Linked DNA regions of Homo sapiens: all the other regions are linked to region 1. Evidence: promoter capture Hi-C in 16 types of primary human blood cells and fetal thymus (Javierre and others, 2016). All regions are on one chromosome and are shown on one strand. The core of a region is centred on a gene start or on the middle of the fragment in contact, and the rest is flanking DNA. Distances in the headings are between cores, read along the strand shown. Region 1 holds the start of CASP3 (caspase 3). Region 2 has its middle 16 kb from the start of ENPP6. Region 3 has its middle 37 kb from the start of ENPP6. Region 4 overlaps LOC105377582 (a long non-coding RNA gene). Region 5 overlaps LINC02437 (long intergenic non-protein coding RNA 2437). Region 6 overlaps MYL12BP2 (MYL12B pseudogene 2). Region 7 has its middle 9.7 kb from the start of LINC02437.

Region 1 (3,663 bases), core at 518-3,017:
TTCTTTTCTAATTATTATTTGCTGAATAATCCTAAACCAGGTCTACTTTTTCTAGATAGGGCATAAAAGTAAAAATACAATGGATGGGCATTCACTGTGTTATGCCAGGCCCCGCATTTGGGGCAAGACACTAAGGATACCAAGATAAACCAAGTCCGTCCCTCCTGGAGTTTGCTTGCAAATCTAGCAGGGAAGATAGTAAACAAGCAACTGCAAAGGATATGACACATCTCTCTTAGGGAATGCTGGCTGCAGAAAGAACACAGCATAGGAAGATTTAACCTTAAACTGTTTAATGAAAACAGAAATTTAAGTAGCAGCTCTTCTAATCAAATGTGATGGCGGGAGAAAGGGAGTGCAGAGGTGTTGCAGGCAGACACTAGGTATGAAGGTCAGCATTGCCGTGCAGAAATCGAACCGGTGCTAAAGATAAGGAGGGGTGGGGGCACTCAGGACCCAACACACGCAGGGGTTTGTTAGCCATATTAAGTGCTGGGTTTAACCTAAGGGCAAAGGACGAGCTTTCTAGACTTTCATTTCATAAAGATCCCTCTGCCTGTGCTGTAAAAAGTGGACTGCAAAGGAGCAGGCGGGTCTGGAAGTGGAGAGACCAGGGAAGAGGCTGCTGTGGTCAGACGGCTGAAATCAGAGATAGAGAGACGCGGACAGATCTGGCAGACATTTACAAGGTCGACAAGGCTTGGCGACTAAGCAGGAAAAGAAGTGGGTGGGCGAGAGGGGGCTGCGAACGATGTTTTCCGGTTTCCTGCTTGGGTGCCACTTACTGAGAATGGGGGAAGAGGCAGGTGCAGGGCACACCCACCGAAAACCAGAGCGCCGAGTGTGAGCAGGGCTCGCTAACTCCTCACGGCCTGGGATTTCAAGGCGACGCCAACCAGCTGTGGCCACGGATACACAGCCACAGGTATGAGCTGCGAGCACTCACGAAACTCTGCAGGGCCGAAAAGGAATTGGAGTTTAAACCCTGCAACTATCTCTCTGGAAGAGCTAAACCACATTGTCAACCCGGGATAATCCAGGCCCCAGGCATGGAAGGCAGCAGAGACGGAAGCCTCGTCCAAAATTGGAAGGATCAGCCCCCAGGGCGAGTATCTCACAGTCAGCACCCGGCCGCCCCAGCCCTCGCAGCACCGCTTCCCGGGGCCACTCCTCCGCCGGCGGTAGCGCCGTCCGTTTCCCAGCTTGCCGCTGCCTTCCGCCGCCTGACCCGGCCTTCCGGCACTCGGCCGGCCGCCAGGTCTCCCGCCCTCGGAGCTCGGTGCCCCGTGCCCGACCTCCCGGCCCCGGGCTCGGTTCCCCTGGCCAGGCCTCCCGCTGCCTGGCCTCCCCGGCCCGGCCTCGCGCTGCCCGGCCTCCCCGGTCCCAGCCCAGCCTCCCGCCCCCGGGCCAGGTCTCCCCTCCGATGACCTGAGGCCTTTCCTTAGGTTACCCCCAGGTCCCTCTCCCTAAATCAAAAGCCTTAACCCGCTGCCTGGCTTCCCCGGCCCCGGCCCAGGCTCCCGCCTCCGGGCCAAGTCTCTCGCTCCGCGGGCTTCACTGCTCGCCCCCGCCCGGGCGAGGTGGCAAAACAAACACTCCGCCTTCCAGACCGGGCAGGTACCCGGGCGGGCGCAGGGCCTGGGAGAACGCAGGGAGCGGGGGCAGGGCTGACGGCCCGGAGCGAGGGCGGCAGTCACCGCACAGCCTCCTCATACCTTCTACAACCGCCTCACAATAGCACCCATCCGCTAGGAGCCGCGTCTGCACTGCTTCCGCGGCCCGCCGCCGGGAGATGTGCTCCAGCGCCAGCCCCGCCTCCCGCCCGCCCCTGTCGGCCCCTCGCGCCGCCTCCGCTGCGGCCCGTCCCCTAGCTCCCGCCCGCCCGAGAACCCAGCCCCAGGCTGGGCCCCAGGAGGCGCCCGCCCACCGCAGCGCGCCCCGCCCCCGCGCCCCGCGTCCTCACGCCCTGGTCCCGCCCTCGCGTCCCGCGCCAGTCCTCCCGCTTTGGTCCCGCCCTGAGGCTCGGCCCGGCTCCCCCGCCCCGGATTTGAAATCTAGGTCTTCCTGAGAGTCCGCGGGCTTCCGCTCCCAGCGCGGGATTCTGGAGGGAAATTGAGGGAGACTTGGAAACCGCGCCAGGCCCAACGGGTACCTAGAAGGGAGACAAAGCCAGGCCTGCTGCCCAGTTTGAGCTCTGGGAAGAAGAGGAGCAGGCCGGGACGCCCACCGGTAATTTCTGTCTCCTCTGCGATGACCTGAGGCCTTTCTTTGGGTTACCCTCAGGTCTCTCTCCCTAAATCAAAAGCCTTAACCTCCTGTCATCAGGGTGCCAGGCTAGAAATAACCAGGTCCACGCATGCTGTGTTTTCCACCATGTCAGGCTGCTGTGGACGCTCTTTCGATCACAAAAGCCACGAGCTGCGTGGAGTTCCCAAGGAGGCAGTTCTCAGCACTTGCTGGTCACTGGGTAGTCAGAGCCTGACACACAGGCTCAAGCCGCTCACGCATCATAGTAGTGTACTTAATCCACATATAAATGTTACAAGTTAAGCATCCCACAACAAAGTAGCATTTAACATCATGAGGAAAAAGAGATGGGGCAAAGAGATTAACGAACCAATCCAGAGGGAGTGAAGAAGAGGAAAAGAAGCCTGGTTTGGGCCGAGAGGTCCTTCTGCAAAGACGGCGTCAATTAAGCCGGCTGTTGGGAGCTGCCGAAGGCCCCATCTTTTATAGTCACAGAGTCCTGTGGTGAGAACTGGTAATGGAAGAGAGTGCTTGTTTGTGTCCTTACCTGGCTGGATGCGGACTATTTTTTTATTTGTTTATTAAAGTATAGTATGCTTGTTGGCAAATGCCTTATGAAATGTAAAAATGGGGTCTTCTCCTAAGATGGAGTTATTAATGGTTACGTCAATGGTGTGCTATATACACTGCCCTACCGATCCCCTTCCTATTTTGGGTCGTGAACTCATTTCAGACCCTGAAGCAAACTGTGAATCATTTTCGCAGAAGAATTCACCAACACATGTGAGCACGACATTCTGCATCAGATTTCAAAAAGTTCTTGACATTCAGAAGTCAGATTCAGGGACCCCATGGCAGAGCCTGTTTCTAACACTTGCGCCTATTCGACTATAGGGACTATATTCTGCACAGAAATATACTTAGTTTTATATATGGTTACCCCTTGCTGAGTTTATTGCATGCTTTTACATTTTCATAATACATTTGTTTGTTTCAGCCTTTCAACAATCCCTCGGGATAGGAATTCCAATTTAAAGAGGATAAGGTTTAAAGAGGTTAAGGCCGAGTTTAAAGAGGTTAAGTCCCGGCGCGGTGGCTCATGCCTGTAATCCCAGGACTTTGGGAGGCCGAGGCAGGTGGATCACGAGGTCAGGAGTTCGAGACCAGCCTGGTCAAGATGGTGAAACCCTGTCTTTACTAAAAATACAAAAAAAATTAGCCGGGTGCAGTGGTGGGCACCTGTAATCCCAGCTACTTGAGAGGCTGAGGCAGGAGAATCGCTTGAACCCGGGAGGCAGAGGTTGCAGTGAGCTGAGATTGCGCCACTGCACTCTAGCCTGGGCAACAGAGCAAGACTCTGTCTCAAAAAAAAGAAAAAAAAGGGGTTAAGTAGTTTGCTGTTGCTAAAAAGACAGT
Region 2 (3,663 bases), core at 629-3,128, 420 kb before region 1:
CAATAACCATCTGGAGTTAATGTCAGATTCCTCATGTTAGGAGCACTGTCCCCAGCAAGACTGTCCCCATTTCAGATGCCAGCTGTAATTCCAGGTCTCCAGACCACCTGTGCCTGACCAACTAACTAGCTACAAATCCTACAACCACTCTCAGGCTTGACAATTCTCCATAACAATTCCTGGAACTCAGGAAGGTGCTAGACTTATAATTACAGTTTTATTATAAAGGCTGCAAATCAGGACCAGCATAATGAAGAGATACATAGGACAAGATCTGAGAGGGTCCCAAACGCAGAGATCCCACGCTCTCTTTCCATGAAATCAGAGCGCATCACCCTCCTGACACATCAATGTGTTTATCAAACAGAAAGTTCCTCTGAGCTTGTGTCCAGAGTTGTATTATAGTTTCCTGACATAGGCATGATTAGTCAGACCATTGACCAAGGATTAAACTCAGTCACCAGCCCCTTTCCCCTCCCTGGAGATCAGACTGGCTCAAAGTCCTAACCTCCTGAGATCACATGGTTGGTCTTTCTGGTGACCAAAGATGCCCCTATTATTCAGGAAATTCCGAGTACTCAGAGTCTCTCTCCCAGGAACTAGGGACAAAGGCCAGTCCAGTGCTTTATTACACAAACAGTTGCATACCTGTTCTCCTTAGCTTGGTGAGATCTCCTCTTTCTGTCTTCAGGCCACAATCAAGTTCCCTGCATGAACTCTGAGATCAGCCAACCTTGAGATAGAACTTATGACAGAGTCCTCTGCAACATGGGGTGCCCAGAGGGCATGAGTTTTGGATGTGGGCCCCACCCCCACAGAATCTGGCCTGATTCTGATACTTCAACCAAGCAAGGTGCTGGGATCCATTCAGTCTTTTCAGGTGACTGTATTTTTTGAACACCACTTATTTTATCTGTGGAAAATTATTTCTAAAATGCCTTATGCTAGCTAATGAAGACTTAGTATCTATAATAATAAAATAGAAAACATTTTCTTTAACCACCTCTGATTATAAATTTCTGTTCAAATGCTGAGTAATTACCCCTGGAGTATAGATGAAAGGTAATTCATGTACCCATATGTGATGGTTCATACTGAGTGTCGGCTTGATTGGACTGAAGGATGCAAAGTATTGTTCCTGGGTGTGTCTGTGAGGGTGTTGCCAAAGGAGATTAACGTTTATGTCAGTGGACTGGGAGAGGCAAACTCACTCTCAGTCTGGGTGAGCACCATCTAATCGGCTGCCAGCATGGCTAGAATAAAGCAGGCAGAAGAACATAGAAGGACTTGACTTGCTGAGTCTTCCAGCCTTCATCATTCTCCTGTGCTGGATGCTTCCTGCCCTAGAACATCAGAGTCCAAGTTCTTCAGCTTTTGGACTCTTGGACTTTTGGACTCAGTGGTTTGCCAGGGGCTCTTGGGCCTTCGGCCACAGGCTGAAGACAGAACTGTCGGCTTTCCTACTTTTGAGGTTTTGGGACTTGGACTGGCTTCCTTGTTCCTCATCTTGCAGATGGACTATTGTGGGTCTTCACCTTGTGATCGTGTGAGTCAGTACTCCTTAATAAAATCCCCTTTATATATACATTTATCCTATTAGTTCTGTCCCGCAAGAGAACCCTGACTAATATAACATAAGTTACACTTTCTATTCTGAAGTAGTTTAAGTAGTTTACCTCATAGACAATGGAACACTTTTGTACTAATATTTTAATACACTGTGACATTATAATTTAAAATTCTTTTTATATTAATAATGCCATCTGTGTGTTTATTGGTGGGGCTCATGCTCCTGCTGAAAAGAAAGTGTACTCGGAAAATCAACTTTGAAATAGAAATTCTGTGTGTTAAAGTGCTAAGAAGATGGGCATACATAAGTACCATGTTGTCCCAGACTGTTAATTAAGAGGACAGCATTCTGCAAAGTATCAGAGTTCAAGGTGAAACGAAGTAGTAAAGAAAGTGTTCACAACAGTCATTCTAGTGTTAAAAGAAAAACCCTAGCCAAATTAAGTTTAATAGTGTTTAATTGAACAGAGAATGATTTGCCAGTTGGGCAGCCTCCTGAGCCAGAGTAGGCTCGAGATACTCCAGTGCATCTAGGTGGTGGAAGAAGACTTATGGGCAGAAAAAGAAAAGTGATGTACAGAAAACAGAAGTGAGGTACACAAACAGCCAAATTGGTTACAGATCAGCTTTTGATTTACTTGAACCCGTTTTGAACAGTTGATCCCTTTTGGCCAAAATTCAGTGATTGGCACAAGAGAAGTGTTAAATCAGGTTTAGCCTAAAGCTGCCTCATTACCTGCTTTAAGTTTGGCCTAAAGGTTTCTCTGTACATCATGAATTATAACCTAAATAGAGTTGTAAACAGACTGTAACCAACTCTTGTGCCAATCACCAAGTTTTGGCCAATCAAATATGGTCAATTGTTCAAACCATGTTCAAATAAGGCAAACACTGACCGGTAATCAATCGGCAGTTTCTGCACCTCACTTCTGTTTTCTCTGAGTCACTTTCCTTTTTCTGCCCATAAATCTTCTTCTGCCACGTGGCTGTGTTGGAATCTCTCTGAGCCTACTGTGGCTCAGGAGGCTGCCCGATTCATGGATTGTTCTTTGCTCAATTAAACTCTTTTAAATTTAATTTGGCTAAGGTTTTTCTTTTAAAGATAGGTTACAATCTGTTTACACCTCCATTTAGGTTATGGCTCCCTGTATACAGAGAAACTTTTAGGCTGAATTTAAAATATGTAAGGAGGCAGCTTTAGGCTAAACTTGATTTAACACTAGGTTTATGAATACACAGTTTATATTTATTCCTATTAGGATAATAGTCTTTATTTGTGCGTGTTTTAAATTGAACAAGGCTTCTAAGAACACATTCCTTATATAAAAGGCAGCTATCTTCCAACTGACTAAATAGGAATGCACAGGCACTAAGTGGAATAGCTAGAAACAGTTCTTCAGACTCCTCATCTCACATTTGGGCATCATATTGGCTACTTCATGGTGGGAACCAGGGTCTTCTCTTTATTGCTGTGAGTCATCACTGGGTGGGACCAGCTGTCAGCCTTTACAGGGATCCCAGGCTCATTCCTGCTGCACAGACCCCTGCTCTCACCTCTCTCCTGGAGAGTTAAAGGCTGAGACCCACCCCATCAAAATTCAATAAGGTCTAGACTAAGACTGGGCATCTATCTATATATCTATCTGTCTATCTATCTATCTGTCTGTCCATTTATCTATCTATCTATCTATCTATCTATCTATCTATCTATCTAAGCTCCTCATATGACTTCGATCAAAAGTCAGGCTTAGGAACCATTGCTGACAATAACAGGCAGCAATGAGTTACTCTGAACAATACCGTGTCATCATCAGATTTGCATTTTAGAAAGCAGGCTCTGGAAGAAGTATGGAGGTGACAACAGTGCTGGTGGAAGCAATAATAATAATCATACAGCTCTCCCCTTCATCCTCAGGGGATACGTTCCAAGACCCCCAGTGGATGCCTAAAACCACAGATAGTACAGAACCCTATATATACCATGGTTTTTGATCTGGTAACTCAGATGCCTACTAAGTGACTAGAGGACAGATAGTGTATCAGTGCCAAAGGGATAATTCCCTTCCCAGGCTGGTGGAGTGGGACAGTGCAAGA
Region 3 (3,663 bases), core at 293-2,792, 390 kb before region 1:
AGGCCAGCAGCTGCGGAGGGGGCACCAGGTTCCCTAGCACTGCCGGCCCGCCCGTGCCACACTCGAATTCTCACAGGGCCTCAGCCGCCTCCCCGCAGAGCAGGGCTTGGAACCTGCAGCCCGCCATGCCCGAGCGGCCCACCCCCGCCGTGATGTGCTCCTGCACCGCCCGAGCCTCCCTGACCGGCACCGCCCCCTGCTCAGGGGCACCGGGTCCCATTGACCACCCATGGGCTGAGGAGTGCAGGCGCCGTGTGCGGGTCTGGTGGGCAGCTCCGCCCACGGCCCTGGCACGGGACCCACTAGGCGAAGCCAGCTGGGCTCCTGAGTGGGGTGGGGACTTGGAGAACTTTTATGTCTAGCTAAAGGTTTGTGAACACACCAATCAGCACTCTGTTTCTAGCTTAAGGTTTGTAAACACACCAATCAGCACCCTGTGTCTAGCTAAAGGTTTGTAAATGCACCAATCAGTGTTCTGTGTCTAGATAATCTGGTGAGGACTTGGAGAACTTTTATGTCTAGCTAGAGGATTGTAAATGCACCAATCAGCACTCTGTGTCTGGCTCAGGGATTGTAAACACACCAATCAGCACCCTGTCAAAAGGGACCAATCAGTTCTCTGTAAAACAGACCAATCAGCTCTCTGTAAAATGGACCAATCAGCAGGATGTGGGTGGGGCCAGATAAGGGAATAAAAGCAGGCTGCCCCAACCAGCAGTGGTAACCTGCTCAGGTCTTTTTCCGGTCTGTGGAAGCTTTGTTCTTTTGCTCTTTGCAATAAATTTTGCTGCTGTTTACTCATTGGGCCTGCACTGCCATTATGAGCTGTAACCGTCACTTCCTAGACCTGCCGCTTCACCCTTGAGGCCAGCAAGACCACAGACCCACTGGGAGGAATGAACGACTGCGGATGGGAGGAATGAATGACTACAGGCGCACCGTCTTAAGAGTTGTAACACTCACCGTGAAGGTATATAGCTTCAGTCCTGAAGCAGCGAGACCACGAACCCACCAGAAGGAAGAAACTTTGAACATGTCCGAACAGCAGAAGGAACAAACTCCCAACACACCATCTTTAAGTAAACTCTCACACTCACCACGAGGATCTGTGGCTTCATTCTTGAAGTCAGTGAGACCAAGAACCCACCAATTCCGGACACACCAGGGTCTTGTTCCTCAGTACTCCTTCCCATATTGAGAGGAGCTGGTCCTGCCATTCTCCCTGACACTGGCCAGGCATTAAGTATATTTGCAGGCTGAATATCTTTCTTGTGTTGTATGTTTGTCTCCTCCAGCACTACACATTCTGTGAATCTATTTGTAGCCTTTCAAGCAATTGATAAAACACTGATACTTTTGCCTCTGCCTCTGCATCTATTCCGTAGTGAGTTGCATCAAAACAAGACCCAACGCTTTCCCGTGTCGCAAGATGATGAGTGAAAAATTGAGCAGCGGGAAGCTAAGGAAAGAAACCTGTAGCCAAGAAGGCTCATGCCAGTGGCAAGATTAAGAAGGGTAATCTCAAACCCAAAGAGCCCAGGATGGGGAAGCCCCTCTGTAGCAGAAACCCTGTCCCATCAGGGGTATGGGCAGATATTCCTGACCTGCTTGTAGTCCAGAAAAGCCATGTACAAGAGGAAGCATTCAGCCGCTAAATCCAGATTTGGAAAAAAAAAAAAAATGGTTCTTGCTACTGTCACAAAACCAGCAGAGGATGATAAGAATGGAGGTGCCTGGATGGTAAAACTTCCGGAAATGCCTACCTATGTGCCTACTCAAGATGCGCCTTGGAATCATGGAGCCCTGGCAAACAAAACAAAACCCTTCAGTCAGAACGTGGGAAGGCTGCAGGCAGCCTCACTCCCCCGGGACTGCTCCCATCATCCTCACTGGGCGCCACGGAGTCCAGAGGGTGGTTTTCCTGAGCTGAGCAGTAATTAGACCTCTGCTTCTCAACTGAGTTCCTCTGTGTGGAACATACTGGAAATGTGTCATCAGCACCTCCATCAAAGTTGCGATGAGCAGTGTGAAAATCCCCCACATCTGGCTGCTGCACACGCACAGACACCAGGAAGGTGAGCACTTCCACACAGAGAAGGAAATGCGGCTTACACAGCAGTGCGAGACAGATCAGAAAGCTGTGGACTCACAAATGCTGCCCCGAACCAAAGCTGTCCCTCAGCTCTAGGGCTACCTTCATTCTGTGTTCTCACTCACAAACGCAATGTGTCCTGACCAACTGCGGTTCTCAATTTCTTGCAAAGAACCTAATTAAATAATGGATACATTTCAAACCAACCAACCAACCAAGCCTGGGTGCTTCTTGCAGAAAGCTTCCAGCCCTTTTTGCTGGATGGGAGCCCAGTCCTCACTGCTGCGAGAGGAGCAGGGGCAGAAACAATGAGTGCTGTCCCCAGCTGCCCCCAGCCAGGCCTCCAGGCCCAACTCCTGCTGCACCTAGGGGGCCGCCACCATGGGCTCCCAGGGACACACGCTTGCTGCCCAAGGGCAGTGTGAGCAGAAGGGCCTACTCCCTGCAGGCTTCAGGAGAACAAAGGCCCTGATTCAGGGCTGCAGTTTCCTGCTGCTGCTAGCAGAAGGCTGCAGGCCGGGCTCTCCTACCCAGGCAACATCACACTTCTGGCTTTCTTCACTGAGTCCCCAATAAATAGGAGGCTTTGAGCTGCAAAATGTGATGCTGTATTTCATGAAACCCCAGAGACCCCAAATGACTGCCCCTGTGCTTCTGAGGGGTTTCTTAAGGGTAGTGTGTTTCCAGGATGAGTTACAATACCTTTTGTCCCACAAGCGAGACACTTTTGCATATGTGCCACTCTGGTTCGGCCCGCGAGGCTGTAGCGGGGGCTGACACGTGGTATTTTTGTGGGGAGTCATTGCCATTTGCTTTGACTGAGACTTTTCGGAGGGCTTTGCTGTCAAATTTTCACTGCGCCTGCACGGTCAGTAAATACCCTCTTCCAGCCTCCTTCCAGGCTAAAAACCAGTGTGGAAAAGTTTAGTCGTGTGTTTGACGCAACTGCATCTCGTTGCTATGGAAACCCAGGCTGCTACATAAACCTAATTCTATATTCCTCTGGCTTATCCCACTTTTCACTAGCAATTTTAAAGGAGATTTTCACCTTCCCTGGGTATTAACCTTTGACTTGGAGACACTAGAGTGGCTTTGTGGATTGTAGAATATCCGTATGCAAGAACTCACAAAACCACATCCAAAACAGCCATTTCATAGGCTGTGGTCTCTCGACACGGAGGCCCACTCAGCCAAGAAGACAAGCTCCGTTGAGTCCTTCTCCAAGAAGGACCAAGAGCACCAGAGAAGGGCCGGCCGGCAGCCCTGTGATGAGAAGCACTCTGGTGGCGCACCCAAGCTGCAAGGACCGTGTCATGATCGATGGGCAATGCCTGCCACAGACTTGGGGGCTGCAGAGGCACAGGTTCCCCCGAATCAGACACCATATGTCTACTTCAGAGCAAAGTGTATTCAGTCAGTTATTTACTTGGACTCCTAAAGCAAGATGGTAGTAGAAGTTCTTTCTGACCCTCCTAGAGCACAGGACCCTTCTAGAATCAGGTTCCTCTGGTCTTGGGCCTGGTGTCTCATTCCTTTTATTTGGGTCAAGACATGTGCTTCTGTTGAGCATT
Region 4 (3,663 bases), core at 591-3,090, 370 kb before region 1:
CCCCACTCTTTCCTGAGTTTATTAAAGGAAGTGGGGAAAGCTCTGTGCTTTTCAGTCTAAGAGCTGGGTGCTGCAGAGAAAGGAGATGTTACTGGGAACACCGACCACCACGTCAAAGGTGCTACTGGGTCCCAGAAGCTTGGGGCAGCTTCTGCAGGGGTCAGTGCCTACCAGTGGAGAAGAGGACTCCAGTCGGGAAGGAAACAGAGCGGCTGGGTTCTTGGTCATCCTTGCAGGGGAGGAATTCTTCTTCACTTAGGTCTTAGCTGCCCAGTCTTCAAAACCACTTCAGGTATCTGCAGTGTACAGGGAGCCAGCTGGGAATTTCCATGGGAGTTGGGGGATTTCCAGATAGCATTTCCTCTTGAGCTGTGCATGACACTTGATAGGCCTAATGCTTTAAAAGTTTTCAGGAAAAGAGTCAGGTGTTCAGTTTTGTTAGGCATTATTTTACTTTGTGATGAATGTGTGGATGGCACACCCCAGCAACTGAGCCAAGCTTTTCCCTGTGGATTTGGGCAAGTACCTGTGAGTGTCAAGACTAAAGGGTGTTGATATAGTTTGTGTGTCTCTGTGTCCCCATCCAAATCTCACCTTGAATCGTAATAATCCCCACGTGTCAAGGGTGAGACAAGGTGAAGATAATTGAATCATGGGGGCAGTTTCCCCCATGCCGATCTCATGACCGTGAGTTCTCATGAGATCTGATGCTTTTACAAAGGGCTTCCCTCTTCGCTGTATACTCATTCTCTCTCCTGCTGCCCTGTGAAGAGGTGCCTTCTGCCATGATTGTAAGTTTCCTGTGGCCTCCCCAGCCATATGGAACTGTGAGTCAATTAAACCTCTTTTCATTATCAATTACCCAGTATCAGGTATTTCTTCACAGCAGTGTGAGAACAGACTTATACAGTAAATTGGTACCAAGAGTGGGGTGCTGCTATACTGGTACGGAAAAATGTGGAAGCAACTTTAGAACTCGGTAAGAGGCAGAGGTTGAAATAGCTTAGAGGGCTCAGAAGAAGACAGGAAGATGCGGGAAAGTTTGGAACTTCCTAGAGACTTGTAGAATGGCTTTGACCAAAATGCTGATAGTGATATGGACAGTGAAGTATAGGCTGAGGTGGTCTCAGATGGAGATGAGGAACTTGTTGGGAACTGGAATAAAGGTCGTGCTATGCTTTAGCAAAGAGACTGGTGGCATTTTGTCTCTGCCCTAGAGATCTGTGGAACTTTGAACTTGAGAGAGATGATTTAGGATATCTGGCAAAAGAAATTTCTAAGTGACAAAGTGTTCAAGAAAAACAGAGCATAAAAGTTTGGAAAATTTTCAGCCTGATGACGTGATAGAAAAGAAAAACCCATTTCCTGGGAAGAAATTCAAGCAGGCTGCAGAAATTTGCACAAGTAATGAGGAGCTGAATGTTAATCACCAAGACGATGGGGAAAATGTCTCCAGGACATGTCAGAGAACTTCACAGCAGCCCCTCCCATCACAAGCCTGGAGGCCTAGGAGGGGAAAATGGTTACCTGGGCCTGGCCCAGGGACCTGTTGCTCTGTGCAGCCTTGGGACTTGGTGTCCTGCATCCCAGCCATTCCAGTTTCAGCTGTGGCTAAAAGGGGTCGAGATCCAGCTTAGGCCATTGCTTCAAGCCTTGGCAGCTTCCATATGGTGTTGGACCTGCAGGTGCATAGAAGTCAAGAATTGAGGTTTGGGAACCTCCAACTAGATTTCCGAGGATGTATGGAAATGCCTGGATGTCCAGGGAGAAGTCTGCTTCAGGGGTGGAGCCCTCATGGAGAACCTCTGCTGGGGCAGTGTGAAAGGAAAATGTGGGGTTGGAGCCCCCACACACAGTCCCCAGTGGGACGCTGCCTACTGGGCCACCATACTTCAGGCCCCAGAATGGTAGATCCACCGACAGCTTGCACTGTGCTCCTGGAAAAGCTGCAGACTCTCAATGCCAGCCTGTGAAAGCAGGCAGGAGGGGGCTGTACCCTGCAAAGCCACAGGGTCAAAGCTGCCAAGACCATGGGAGCCCACCTCTTGCATCAGTGTGCCCTAGATGTGAGACATGGAGTCAAAGGAGATCATTTCAGAGCATTAAGATTGAATAACTGCCTTGCAGGATTTTGGACTTGCATGGAGCCTGTAGCCCCTTTGTTTGGGCCAATTTGGAAGGGGACCATTTACCCAATGCCTGTACTCCCATTGTATCTTAGAAGTAACTAACCTGCCTCTGATTTTACAGGCTCATAGGCAGAAGAGAGTTGCCTTTTCTCAGGTGAGACTTTGGACTTGGACTTTTGAGTTAATACTGGAATGAGTTAAGACTTTGAGGGACTGTTGGGAGAGCATGATTGTGTTGTGAAATGTGAGGGCATGAGATTTGGGAGGGGCCAGGGGCAGAATGATGTGGTTTGGCTCTGTGTCCCCACCCAAATATCACCTTGAATTGTAATAATACCCATGTGTCAAGGGCAGCACCAGGTGGAGATAATTGAATCATGAGGGCATTTTCCCCCATGCTGTTCTCACCATGAGTGAGTTCTCACAAGATCTGATGGTTTTATAAGAGGCTTCCCCCTTCACTCCAAACTCATTCTCTCTCTTGCTGCCTGTGAAGAGTGCCTTCCACCATGGTTATAAGTTTCCTGAGGCCTCCCCACCCATGTGAAACTGTGAGTCAATTAAACCTCTTTTATTTATAAATTACCCAGTCTCAGGTATTTCTTCATAGCAGCATGAGAATGGACTAACACAGGTGTTGATCTGTAAGGTAATATTATTGGAGTCATGACATCCAAAGTATCTTTAAACTCTTAAACAATATTTGTTCATTTCACATTTTTATATCTTCCTGGCACTATGCAGGGCAAACAATTGTAGCATACAAAGTGAATTATAGAAAACCTTACATATGGGTCTTGAGGAATTCTTGCACTTTTTCTCCCACTTTATGACACACTTCCATGTGCCATTATATCTAAAAAAAATAAAATAAAATCAACTCCAAAAGCAGAGAGCAAAGTCATAACCCATCTCAGCAAAGGTTTATTAAATTTCATTCATCCCAGAAGCTGCTCTGCCAACATTTTTCATCTTTTTCCTTTCTTCCTTTCCAATTTTATGATTTTTTTCTTTTCCACCTAAGGAAACCTTCTAGCGTCTCTTTGCCTACACTAAGCTTTTTTATATCTACAGCTCTTCCCATTACCATTAAAAGGCAAGAGGAAGAGAAGAGGATCTTTGTATACTTGTCTCTATCGTACAGTATATGAATGTATGCCAGGTGTGGTGGCACATGCCTGTATTCCCAACTACTCAGGAGGCTAAGGGAGGAAGGTTGGCTTGAGCCCAAGAGTTCTGGGCTGTAGTGTGCTATGTCCACTGGGTGTCTGCACTAAGTTCAGCATCAATATGGTGACCTTCTGGGAGTGGGGAACCACCAGGTAGCCTAAGGAGGGTTGAACCTGCCCAGGTTAAAATAGAACAGATAAGAATTCTGTGCTGATAAGTAGTGAGATCCAACCTGTAAATAGCCACCACACTCCAGCCTGGGCAACATAGTGAGACCTTGTCTCTAGAAAAATAAAATAAAATAAACCTTTTTAAAAAATGAATCTAAATTCACATGTAACGATACCTTTCTTGGAGATTGTTT
Region 5 (3,663 bases), core at 311-2,810, 350 kb after region 1:
CAGCTACTCGGGAGGCTGAGGCGGCAGAATCACTTGAACCCGGGAGGCAGAGGTTGCGGTGAGCCGAGATTGCACCATCACACTCCAGTCTGGGCAACAAGAGTGAAACACCATCTCAAAAAAAAATACCTAAGCCAGCCTGTTGGGCAGAGGTGGTCTAAGGGGACTCCTGGAAGAGGGCGCCTCTGAATAGGGTGTTGAAGGATGAATTGGATTTGCCCAGGAAAGAAGGGCATTATAAGCATGAGAAACTGCCTGTGCGGAGGCAGATAGGCACAGGGCGTTGAGTGCTTGGAGGGAAAACTACGAGTACTTTAACACTGCAGGCCGCCTGAAATAACACAGCAGGAGAGGACTGCTATCTCAGGGCAAGGCACGACACGAGAGGAGTCGGGATACTTTTCTTAAAGTCAATGGAAGCAACTGAAGGCTATTAAGCATTTTAGACAGATCACCCTAACACCAGTACGTAGTAGCTTTCTGGTGATGGGCAAAAAAATAAGGCGACTCTTGCAGAAACCCATGAGAAATTGTGGGGTGTCAGTGTGGTGTCTGCGGGGGTCGGAGTGAAGGGGTGTCAGGAAGGAATCAACAGAACTTAATGTCTATGGATTGTGGTCAGAGCAGAGCGGAAGTCAAGAACAACTCAAGCATTTCTGTCTGGAGTGTTTTGGTGAAGGAATTCTAAATCGAGGCTGTTGGAGAGGGAGTGCTGTTTAGGATGTCCCAAATTTGGGACATCCAGGTGGAATGGCCTGGCAGGAATCTGGATTTAGGAGACACAGGTGGAGGCTGAGGCTGTGGGGTGCTGCTTTTCAACCCTGGCTGCACACTGGAAACACCTGAAGCTCTGACAGCCTCTCATTCTGGGCCCCACCCCAGAGCGTCTAATGTCACGGGCCCGGGCCTAGAGGAAAGCTCCCCAGGGGACTGGAGTGGGCAGCCTGGGTTGAGACCCACTGGCATAAAGAGAGGGGTTTCAAGCCTGCGGGATGCCCCTCCCCACTCTAGGATTTACCAGCCAAGTGACCCTGGGGAGGTCATTAGCCTTATGGTCTTAGTTTCCTGCACTAAAAAATTAAGATTGTACCTCTTCAAAGAATTATGAATATTACGTAAGATAACGTGTGTGAAGTGCCTAAGCCCATTCCTGGCACATACTGCAAACCAGATATGTGTCGGGATTCACTCCCAGAGCAAGTCTGAGGAAGGACATACTCTCAGCCTGCAGTCCCAAAATGGAACCAGGCTTTCTGTTTAACAGAAAGGGAAATAAGGAATCTCCCAAACCTGTCATCCACAGGACACCTCTCTGTGTGCATACCGTCCGGCTGGCTCCGACCTTCACAGAGCAGCCTTTAGAATGTAGCACAGGACACGGAAGTGTCGCAATGCCTCAGCCCTGACAGCAATGATCCAACAGCCGTGGCTCGCACTGAGACACAATGCTGGGATGCAATGGAGCCATTCACTTGTGTAGCCCCTAAACCATGATTTAGAAAGCACCGTGTGTGCAAGGAAGGGCATCTATCAGTCCTTCCTTCATCCTTTCAACCAACATTGTTCGGTCCTCGCTCTCTGCCAGCCACCACACTAGGTTCTGAGGGGGACATAATAGGCAGGAAAGAAATGGTCTGTGCCTCCGATGGGGACAGACCCATGTCCTCGACACCTGTCTAGTCCATTCCCTTTTCAGCATCAAAGCAGCCCCCATTATTTCCACCTCCATCATTTCCCTCATGGGTTTTGGCAAGAGCCTCCTAATTCTTTCACCTGTCACCAGTAGCAAGCTCTTCCAATCCATTCTGGCATCAGATACAGATTACTTATCACGTAATCCCTCAAATAAATGTTAACTGTGACTATGTATGACAACAGAGGTACCTGATGCTATGGGACCATATCTTAGGGGGCTTCGATCAAATAGAGTGGCCAGAAAGGCTTCTCCGAAGAAGTGACAGAAAACTGAGAAGTCAGTGCAGACACAAGTGGAGACGGGTTGGGGAGACTCCTCAGGCCTCACAAGCCTCACCCGTCAGCTATTCCACGCTGCCAGGCCCTTCTTTGCACAGCTCCCTCCACTTGACGTACCTACAGCAAAAGCAAGTGGTGCTTAGAGCAGGTGCCCCTCCTCAGCCAAGACTCCCTTCAGCACCGTCCCTCTCGAGGTCACTTCTGACCACACCTGCTCCCCAGTCATCGCTCCCCCGTGTCTCCGCCGGGTCTATCACCAAACCTCTCACCCAGTGCAAGACCCCGAGGTGGCAGATTCACTCCCACTGGACGGCATGCTCCTCACAGGTGGGTCTGCTTACCCCTCTATCCAGTAGCGAATGCAACGCCAGACAGAGGTTTGTCTTCAGGGATGGACTTACACGATTGTGGAGGCTTGGCAAGCCCCAAATCTGCAGGGTAGGTGGGCAGGCCGGAGACCTAGGGCACGGCTGCTGTTGCAGCTTGAGTCCTAAGGAAGTGAGTGTGGAGGCAGAATACCCCTCCTCAGGGAACCTCAGTCTTTTTCTCTTCAAGCCCTCAACTGATTGGACAAGGCCCACCACATTCAGAGGATAACCTACTTAAAGTCTACTGATGTAAATGTTAATCTCATCTTAAAATACCTTCGCAGCAACACCTGTGCTGGTGTTCTACCAAACATCTGCGTACCATGGTGCAGCCAGGTTCACACAAAAAATTAAGCATCACCCCAAGTAAAAACAGCCTTTGGTGATGATGTGTGAAGTCTTGAGACCTGCTTATGATGTGTTTATCTTCTCCATTCTCTTCCTTTTCCTCCCTCCTTTGTCTGCTCTCTTTCATGCCTCTCCCTTTTCTTCCCATTTTCCCCCTTTCTTTCCTCCTGTGTGTGTCTCCCTCCCTGTGGTTTCTTCCAGGTGTGCCGGGGGTCCCGTCAGCTGCAGGACACGGGAGGGATGGAGTGAAGCAGAAAGGCCCCGCCGTGACCACACTCATCCCAGAAGAGCCTCTCTGTTGGCATGAAAGGAAATCACAAGGAAAGGGACTTTTCAAGGTCAGACTGCACCAGTGGAAAGTCAGCACCAGCCCCCAGGGCTCGAGGCAGCCTGTGCCCTTTCCACTAACTGTGCCAACTCTCACCAGGGGAAGGCTGACCAGGAACAAAGGCCCTTAGAGGAGAGCAGAACTCCTGCAGCCTGCACTTCCGAGAGATCCTGCTCCACGGAGCCCGGCTCTACTCCTGCAGGCAGAACCTGCCAGCCCGCAGATGCTGGGGGCTGAAGGATCCCGGCGACACCAAGCGTCAGGTCAGGCGTCAGAATCCAGCGCGTTTGCTCCTCGAGAACAGCGCGCCACCTGCTCCCAAGTGTGTGAGGGGCTGCAGTGCCGAGCTCCACTTCACAAGACTCACTCCTGCCCCGCCACCTCCTGAGCAGACGCAGTCAAGCCCGACCTACCTTTCAACAAACATGTATTAGCACTCCCTCCATGCCAGGCACTGTGCCAGGTGCGAGGGTACCATGACCAAGCCAAGGCCCCAGGCTCAGAGCACTCACACGCCAGTGGAGGGGGCAGCCCTGTGCGACCCAGCAGGGCACACCCCACCTCCAGCCTAGGCTCCACCCAGGCCTGATCTGGGTAGCCCGGCGGACGTACTGACTCCCTGTTCACCGATACCGTCATCCAACC
Region 6 (3,663 bases), core at 805-3,304, 350 kb before region 1:
AACTGCTAAAAAAAAAAAAAAAAAAAGAAAAACTAGACAAAATGTATACGACAATGGTTTTCAGATATTTAATATCAAGCATCACAGCCTAGTGTTCCCTGAGAGAGTTGAGTCATATGATTCACCCAACTTAGTGCCAGGAGAGAGTATCCAAGGCATAACACAGGGAGGGGAATCAGCAGTTTCCATAAGTTAAGCAGACAGTTTGGGGATTGGAGGAGACCAAGACAGAGTTGGCAGGACAGAGTACTAGACAGGAGAGAGCTACACAAAGAGCACCAGAGATCTGCAGAGGGTCACCCTGGAGACTTCAGTCGAGTACTGATCGCAGCAGGCCTGTGAGGAAACTATCCAGGGCTGAAAAGGAACTGCCTAAAAGGAACAAAGGGAGCCAGGGGCCAGGACAGTTTGTATTCCCACCAGCCAATGTTGGAAAACCGTATAATTCATAGACTAATTAGAAGGTTTAGCTTTCATATGGGGGAAGGATTAGCCCTGGATTAAAAGCTGTTCTGTTCTCCCTAAAAAAGCTTAAATCAGGCCTCAAAACGAACTATTTCTTTTTTTTTTTTTTTCAAGAGATCACTTTTTATTGTGATACACAGTTTACTGAAGACAGGAACTGCTCTGATGACGAGCATCACAGAGTTTTAAGCAGATACTGGCAACACCTGACTCACTAAAGCAGGAGGCAGTTACACAATTACAGCAGTACAGTACATACTAGTTTATAGAGTTATGTTTTTTTGGGGGGGCTTTCACATTTGTTGATTTTTATTGGCGATCTCTTTTTCAATACAATTTATGCCCTCATCCTCATTTCCCGTCTGATTATACAAGTGCTAAGTGGCAGAAAGTTCTGGAATAAATACATAAAAAAAAAGAGGCAAAGCTGTGAAACTAAGTTGCATGCAACAGGTTCTATGAGGGTGGTGGAAGTGTGTGAGAAACAAAACAGAGTAAGACAATGTAACTGGAAGGTTTTAGCTAAAGTTCTTTTCAGTCATCTTTGTCTTTTACTCCATGTTTCAGGATGCTTGTGAATTCGATGTAATTGAAATTCCCCTTTTTGTCAATAGGTGCTTCTGTGTACAGCTCATCCACTTCCTCATCCGTAAACTGATCCCCCACGGTTGTCAGCAGCTCTCTCAGGTAATCTTCCTGAATGGTGCCTGTTGCTTCTTCATCAAAGCAAGCAAAAGCATTTCTGATGACGTCTTCAGGATCTGTGCCATTTAACTTCTTACCAAACATGGCGAGCAACATGGTGAAGTTAATGGGCCCTGGTGCCTCATTCATCACGGCATCAAGGCATGCATCAGTGGGATTCTTCCCTAGAGAAGCAAGCATACCATGCAAATCTTCCTTGCTGATGAAACCATCTCTGTTCTGATCAATCATGTTGAAGGCCTCTTTGAACTCCTGAATCTGTGACTGGTCAAACGTGGCAAACACCTTGGACGTTGCACACTGAGGGCGCTTCTTGGTGGTCTTGCCTTTTTGCTCAACATGGTGGTTGCTTAATTCCGGCACCAAATACCAGAAACGGAACCACCCTGTGCGAGATGACAAGCGACAGCGAGGAGCGCGGGGCTGTGGCCAGACAGTGGCGGCTATAGAGCTATGATTTAATACTGCATTTTAAATTTGCTTACATGTACAGTCTGTATGTTTTCATAAAATTTAACTTTTAATAGATTTGTGTATTTTGTGGTCGTGCTCACCGCAACCTCTGCCTCCCGGGCCCAAGCAATTCTCCTGCTTCGGCCTCCCGAGCAGCTGGGACCACAGGCATGTGCCCCCATTCCAGGCCAATTTTGTAATTCTGCTAGAGACGGGGTTTCTCCATGTTGGTCAGCCTCGTCCCGAACTCCCAACCTCAGGTGATCTGCCCACCTCGGCCTCCCAAAGTGCTGGGACCACAGGCATGAGCCACCATGCCCAGCCTGTGAATTCTCCAAGTTGTCACAAAGCTCCAAACAAATTTCCAATATATTTATTGAAAAAAAAATTATGGCCGGGCACAGTGGCTCACTCCTGCAATCCCAGCACCCTGGGAGGCCGAGGTGGGTGGATCACGAGGTCAAGAAATCGAGACCATCCTGGCCAACATGGTGAAACCCCGTCTCTACCAAAAACACAAAAATTAGCCCGGCATGGTGGCATGTGCCTGCAATCCCAGCCACTTGGGAGGCCGAGGTAGGAGAACCACCCAAACCCAGGAGGCGGAGTCCACAGTGAGCTGAGACCACACCACTACACTCCAGCCTGGCGACAGTGAGACTCTGTCTCAAAAAAAAAAAAAAAAAAAAAAAATTGCATATACCTGTGCACTTCAAATTTATGTTGTTCAAGGGTCTAATGCATAATTTTTTCAGTAAACTCAATTAGTGGGTTCCCCAAATTGTGGGATAAATCTTTTATGTAAATTCATGTGTTTTACAGACATGTGAAGACATCCCACAATACACTAATTACAGTCTTATTCAAATCTCAACTCTATTACAGATTTTGCATGTCAAGAAATCTTTTAGGTTCTGCTATTCCTCAGACTACGTTCCTGACCTCATTGAGGGTTTCAGAGGATAAATCAGGGGTCAGACTGGTAGAGTCACATAGAGAAGGAAAGAAAATAAGAAAAATGCTAGGAAAACCAGGCAGTGTCTCAATTACTACAGAATGGTCTTCACAAACTGGCATCACTGTTATGCTGGCAATAAATTTGCAAATCTCACACACCTCTTCTAATGTAAGTAGAAAACACAGACATTCAGGCTAGGTGCAAGGGGTTCACACCTGTAATCCCAGCCCTTTGGGAGGCCAAGATTGCTTGAACCCAAGAGTTCAAGACCAGCCTGGGCAACACGACAAGACCTCATCTCTACAAAAAAATTTAAAAATTAGCCGGGCGTGGTGGGGCGCAGTTGTAGTCTCAGCTACTTGGGAGGCTGAGGTGGGAGGATCCATTGAGCCTGGGAGGCTGAGAGTGCAGTGAGCTGTGATTGTGCCACTGCGCTCTGGCCTGGGTGAGAGGAGTAAGACCATCTCAAAAAAAAAAAAAAAAGACACGCAGAGCTGATTTTTTGTTTTTAGGATCCACACATCTAAAAGTTGAATAATTAAAGAAAAATTAATCAGCACTGATTGACTCTGGAAGAGTATTAAATTAGCTTTTCCCTTTAAAGTAGACCCCAGGCTTAACTTACCTCAAGCTCTTTTGATTCTGATAGCCTGTATGCCTATACTGTATAAGCTAAAGAGTGCATCAGTCTTTTCTATCACTTTAAATACAATAAAACTGTTTCTAAGCAACTTAATTGCATCCCAGAACAAAACGCAAGAATATCTATAAGAATATTAATCTATCCAGGACCTAAAAAGAAAAATTCATAATGTCTGGCACCCAACAAAAAATCACCGGATAGCCAAAGAAACAAGAAAATATAACTCATAAAGAGAAAAGTCAATGAAGAGAACTATACAGAAATTATAGTTATAACTGTATTCCATATATTTAAGAAGATAGAAGAAATATTGAACATATTAAGGAAGGGGAAAATATTTTTTAAAATGTAAATTAAGCTTTTTGGAATCTACAATTTCTGAAATAAAACATATATTGGATAGGATTAATCACAGTTTAGACATCTAAGAAGAAAAGAT
Region 7 (3,663 bases), core at 705-3,204, 330 kb after region 1:
TCTACAGAAAAAAAAGTTTCAAAATAGCAAATCTAATGGATGTGGGCTCTGTTAGGAACAGCATGGCCATGCTTTCAAACCTCCTTCAGGGCTGTCCTGGGCAACAGAGGAACGCTTTTGATCTGCTGTCTTGGCAAATTTCAAGTACACAATCCGTGATTATTAGCTACAGTCACCAGCTGAAGTGTTCTCAGCACACACACACACACACACACACACAAGGTAACTATGGGAGGTGATGGATATGTTAATTAGTTTGATCGTGTATATATTCACAAAGTGTATATATATATATGTATCAAAAGATCACATTGTATACACCAAATATATATGATTTGTATTTGTTAATCATACCTCAGTAAAGCTGGAAACATTTTTTTCAATTAAAATTGCCTCGAAAAGTAAAAATGAGAAGAATTATAAATATTTAGTAAATGTCAAGTGCTTTATTCATGGATAACAAAATATATTTATAGTGCAAAAAACAACAAGAAAGAACATAAGAAGTGAGTTCATGCTCTCAGCCCTCCCCCAGCTCCGCCCTCCCCGAGGTCCCAGTGTTCCGTCCTCTTTCTGTCTCTAACCTTCCACAGACCGAGTTCCCTGAACCCTTCTCTTAGCCTCGCCCTCTGCTCCTGGGAGACAGCCAACATGGATGGAGTCACGTCTGCTTATATCTTTAGCCAGGACTCACTAGAATGTTCTTATCCTTCTCAGGAAATAGGTTTTTTTCTTGTGCAATATTATTTTCTACTGCCCCCATCTCCAATTTGAAAAGTAGCAGGTGCTCATTATAAAAAGCTTCCAGTTTAAAAAATGTTGTAATATTATTTTAATCTTTTTTAGTGTTACATAAGAGCTGTACAAATCTTCAGGGCATATGTGATATTTTGACACATTGCTATATTGTGTAAAGGTCAAGTCGGGGAATTGGGTTATCCCTCACCTTAAATATTTATCTTTCCTTTATGCTGGGAACATTTCAATCATTCTCTTCTAGCTATTTTGAGTTGTGCAGTAGATTATTGTCAAATATGGTCACTCTACTGATCTATCGAACACTAGGTCTCATTTCTTCTATCTGACTGCATATTTGTACCCATTGATCAATGAGAGTTTATACATTTTCTGTATTATATTGGGGACCCGTCTGTTGTGTTCTGGGGCCTGCCCCATTCACAGCTGTCCCAAGGGGGTTTCTTACCCACAGTCTACTGAGCTGTGTGTCTGTTGACTCTGCCCCTGCCCTTGCCCGCTGGATTGACCAGGGCGGTCCCACAGTCACTCATGCTTTGTGGTGGGATGCAAGAGGCAGCAACAGTACTGCCCTCACTCACTTCTGCAAAACACTCGTGGCTGCTACCTTCTGCGTGCCAGGATTCCCAAAAGCCTCATGGACACTCTTTTAAAGCACTGCCTCCAAAGAAGGCCTTCTAAAAATACACGTGTGATTTTAAAATGTTCATGCACTTGGATCCCATGATTCTACTTCTGGAAATGTATCCAAAGGATATACTCATAGATATTCAAATAGAGACCTGTAAAAGGGACTTTCTGTGTGACATTATTACTTTTCTTGGGTCAGATTTCTTCTATGTCTATTTCTTGTTTCATGGCAAACTGTGGGTGAGAAGCCCGTCCGCATGGCTGTGAATGGAGCAGGCCCTGGAACTCAACAGATTGGTCCCCAAAATAATTCAGAAAATGTATACACTCTTGTTGATTAATACACAGTTAGATAGAAGGATCCAGAAGTAGCTTGGGTGCCAGCATCCTGTCAGCCCCAGGGCAGAGTGCCTGTCTCAAAGGCAGCAACCCCGGCTGGCGTGGCTGCAGCGTGGGCTCCTGTAAGGCTCTGCCCTGACTGCACTGCACTCAGGCCCTCTTGTCGGGAGCTGAGCGACGAGACACGCAGGACCGTCTCGCAGGACTGAGGGGTGCAGGAGAGCATTTGCCTACGACCCGCAGAGGGAAGGAACGAAGCAGAAGCCACAGAAGAGAAAAAAGGGAAGGGGAGGGTTTAGCTGGTGGGAGCAGAAGGAGAGAGAAAGAGAGAGAGAGAGAGAGAGACAACACTAGACTCCCAGCTTCATGAGGGAAGCGGCCAAGTGTGCCTTGTTCACGTCCACATGCCGGGAGATAAGCCGTGCCTGGCAGATGGAAGTCACTCCTTCAGAGTTTGTGGACTGATGGACAGACGGAAGAGAGAGCACAGAGCAGGCAGGGTGTCTGGAAGCCCCCCCGGGCCTGCAGCCTGCTGCTCCTGCAGATCTCTGAGGGGCTGCTGTTGCCATCATCCACATGGCCCCTTCCAGCCTCCTCTGCAGACAAGATTCCTTCCTGCCTTCCTTGTTGTCCCGCAGCCTCTTACGGTCAACCTCATCATGTAAGAGACCTGGATGGTTTTCTGGTTCCTGACAGCTCAGAGACCCCAACAGAGAAATGGTCAAGAAAGAACAAAGTAAAAGTCCTCCACGAGCCAGAGATGACCATTGTTTCCTCCTGAAAGCGTATTGTTCTGTGTTCTGCTTTTTAACACTAAACAAGTGAAATATTTCCACGCCACAAGTAGCCTTTCAAAATGCAATGTCAGTGGTTACATTTGGTTGCTCCATTCTTTAGGGTATCAGATGTTAGATGTTAGACATTCTGGTTTTTCTTGGAAGCTCGCTCTGTAAATAAATGATTCAACTTCTGGAATCATTCATGTGAAGACCAACATTCATTTGCATGTCTGCGCCCTGTGGTCCACACAGACCTGCACATGAATGTTTTAGCTGCTTTATTCCTGATTGCCAGACACCAGAAACAACCCAAATGCCCACCGATAGGAAAATGGGTCAACAAACTATAGGACAACACAATGGAATACTACTCACCAATAAAAGGAGCAAACAACCCATGAATGCAATACCATGGATGCATCGAAAAACATTTGCTAAATGACAGAAGCCAGGTGCAGATGGCCACACCTGTAATTCCATTTGTGTGACGTTCACAAAAGGCAAAACTACAAGCTGCAAAGCAGATCAGCGCTGCCAGGGGCTAGGGATTGCGGCAGGGGATTGACCACAAAGGGTAGCATGGGTGAACTTTTTGGAATGATGGGAAGCTTTTTTATTATGGGGGTGGTTACATGACTGTATACGTTTGGCAAAACTTATCCAGCTGTCTACCTTATAAGGATCAATTTTATTGTATGTAAAGTATACCCCACCTAAATCTGACCCGAGAAAAATAATAATGTAATGTAGAATATTCCTTTTATGGATCTCTATTTGAATATCTATGAGTATATCCTTTGGATATATTTCCAGAAGTAGAATCATCGGATCCAAGTGCATGAACATTTTAAAATCACACGTGTATTTTTACAAGGCCTTCTTTGGAGGCAGTGCTTTAAAGGAGTGTCCACGGGGCTTTCAGGAATCCTGGCACATGGAAGGGAGCAACCACGAGTGTTTTGCAGAAGTGAGGGAGGGCAGTCCTGTTGCTGCCTCTTACATCCCACCACAAAACATAGGCGACTATAGGACCTCTCTGCTTCCTGACCTCTGAAGTGTCAGGAATAAGCTGCCTCATTGACTCCCATCACTCCACCCCAAAGGCCAGAGCTCAGCACTGCCCAGCGTGGTACAATTGAACTTCCTGCCATGGCGGGAA

What was found. Contacts are between HindIII fragments. The CHiCAGO score rates a contact against its expected background, and 5 or more counts as called.
Region 2: a fragment that was not itself captured here is called in contact with the fragment with the promoter of CASP3 in region 1 in 2 of 17 cell types (neutrophils and activated CD4 T cells); the score reaches 7.0 in neutrophils.
Region 3: a contact is called between a fragment that was not itself captured here and the fragment with the promoter of CASP3 in region 1, in 13 of 17 cell types (naive B cells, naive CD8 T cells, activated CD4 T cells and 10 more). The highest score is 8.6, in naive B cells.
Region 4: a fragment that was not itself captured here is called in contact with the fragment with the promoter of CASP3 in region 1 in 14 of 17 cell types (naive CD8 T cells, naive CD4 T cells, activated CD4 T cells and 11 more); the score reaches 12.3 in naive CD8 T cells.
Region 5: a fragment that was not itself captured here is called in contact with the fragment with the promoter of CASP3 in region 1 in 2 of 17 cell types (neutrophils and megakaryocytes); the score reaches 8.7 in neutrophils.
Region 6: a contact is called between a fragment that was not itself captured here and the fragment with the promoter of CASP3 in region 1, in 3 of 17 cell types (neutrophils, M2 macrophages and naive B cells). The highest score is 5.5, in neutrophils.
Region 7: a fragment that was not itself captured here is called in contact with the fragment with the promoter of CASP3 in region 1 in 2 of 17 cell types (M2 macrophages and megakaryocytes); the score reaches 7.2 in M2 macrophages.

Annotation. Positions count from the first base shown.
Region 1 is chr4:184,647,680-184,651,342 of GRCh38, forward strand. It overlaps CASP3 (caspase 3), which reads right to left and starts at 1,768. Exons shown (of 8, transcript NM_004346.4): 1 at 1,716-1,768; 2 at 786-952. It overlaps PRIMPOL (primase and DNA directed polymerase), which reads left to right and starts at 2,059. Exons shown (of 14, transcript NM_152683.4): 1 at 2,059-2,229. RefSeq lists silencers at 1,276-1,485, 1,496-2,075. The HindIII fragment of the contact is 9,772 bases long and covers 1-3,663 here.
Region 2 is chr4:184,231,851-184,235,513 of GRCh38, forward strand. No RefSeq gene overlaps it. Among named protein-coding and RNA genes, the nearest start is that of ENPP6, 16 kb to the left of the region's middle. The HindIII fragment of the contact is 7,747 bases long and covers 1-3,663 here.
Region 3 is chr4:184,253,080-184,256,742 of GRCh38, forward strand. It overlaps the pseudogene RPL6P16. Among named protein-coding and RNA genes, the nearest start is that of ENPP6, 37 kb to the left of the region's middle. The HindIII fragment of the contact is 1,578 bases long and covers 754-2,331 here.
Region 4 is chr4:184,275,650-184,279,312 of GRCh38, forward strand. It overlaps LOC105377582 (a long non-coding RNA gene), which reads right to left. Exons shown (of 6, transcript XR_939552.3): 2 at 2,716-2,985; 3 at 1,528-1,679; 4 at 172-397. It also overlaps the pseudogene RN7SL28P. Among named protein-coding and RNA genes, the nearest start is that of MYL12BP2, 37 kb to the right of the region's middle. RefSeq lists an enhancer at 1-750. The HindIII fragment of the contact is 2,687 bases long and covers 498-3,184 here.
Region 5 is chr4:185,001,609-185,005,271 of GRCh38, forward strand. It overlaps LINC02437 (long intergenic non-protein coding RNA 2437), which reads left to right. Exons shown (of 2, transcript XR_001741949.1): 2 at 2,892-3,663. Among named protein-coding and RNA genes, the nearest start is that of LINC02437, 14 kb to the left of the region's middle. RefSeq lists an enhancer at 3,501-3,560. The HindIII fragment of the contact is 4,746 bases long and covers 1-3,663 here.
Region 6 is chr4:184,298,130-184,301,792 of GRCh38, forward strand. MYL12BP2 (MYL12B pseudogene 2) reads right to left here. Exons shown (of 3, transcript XM_047416561.1): 3 at 753-1,640. The coding sequence ends at 1,000. Among named protein-coding and RNA genes, the nearest start is that of MYL12BP2, 14 kb to the right of the region's middle. The HindIII fragment of the contact is 3,052 bases long and covers 529-3,580 here.
Region 7 is chr4:184,977,799-184,981,461 of GRCh38, forward strand. No RefSeq gene overlaps it. Among named protein-coding and RNA genes, the nearest start is that of LINC02437, 9.7 kb to the right of the region's middle. The HindIII fragment of the contact is 2,311 bases long and covers 800-3,110 here.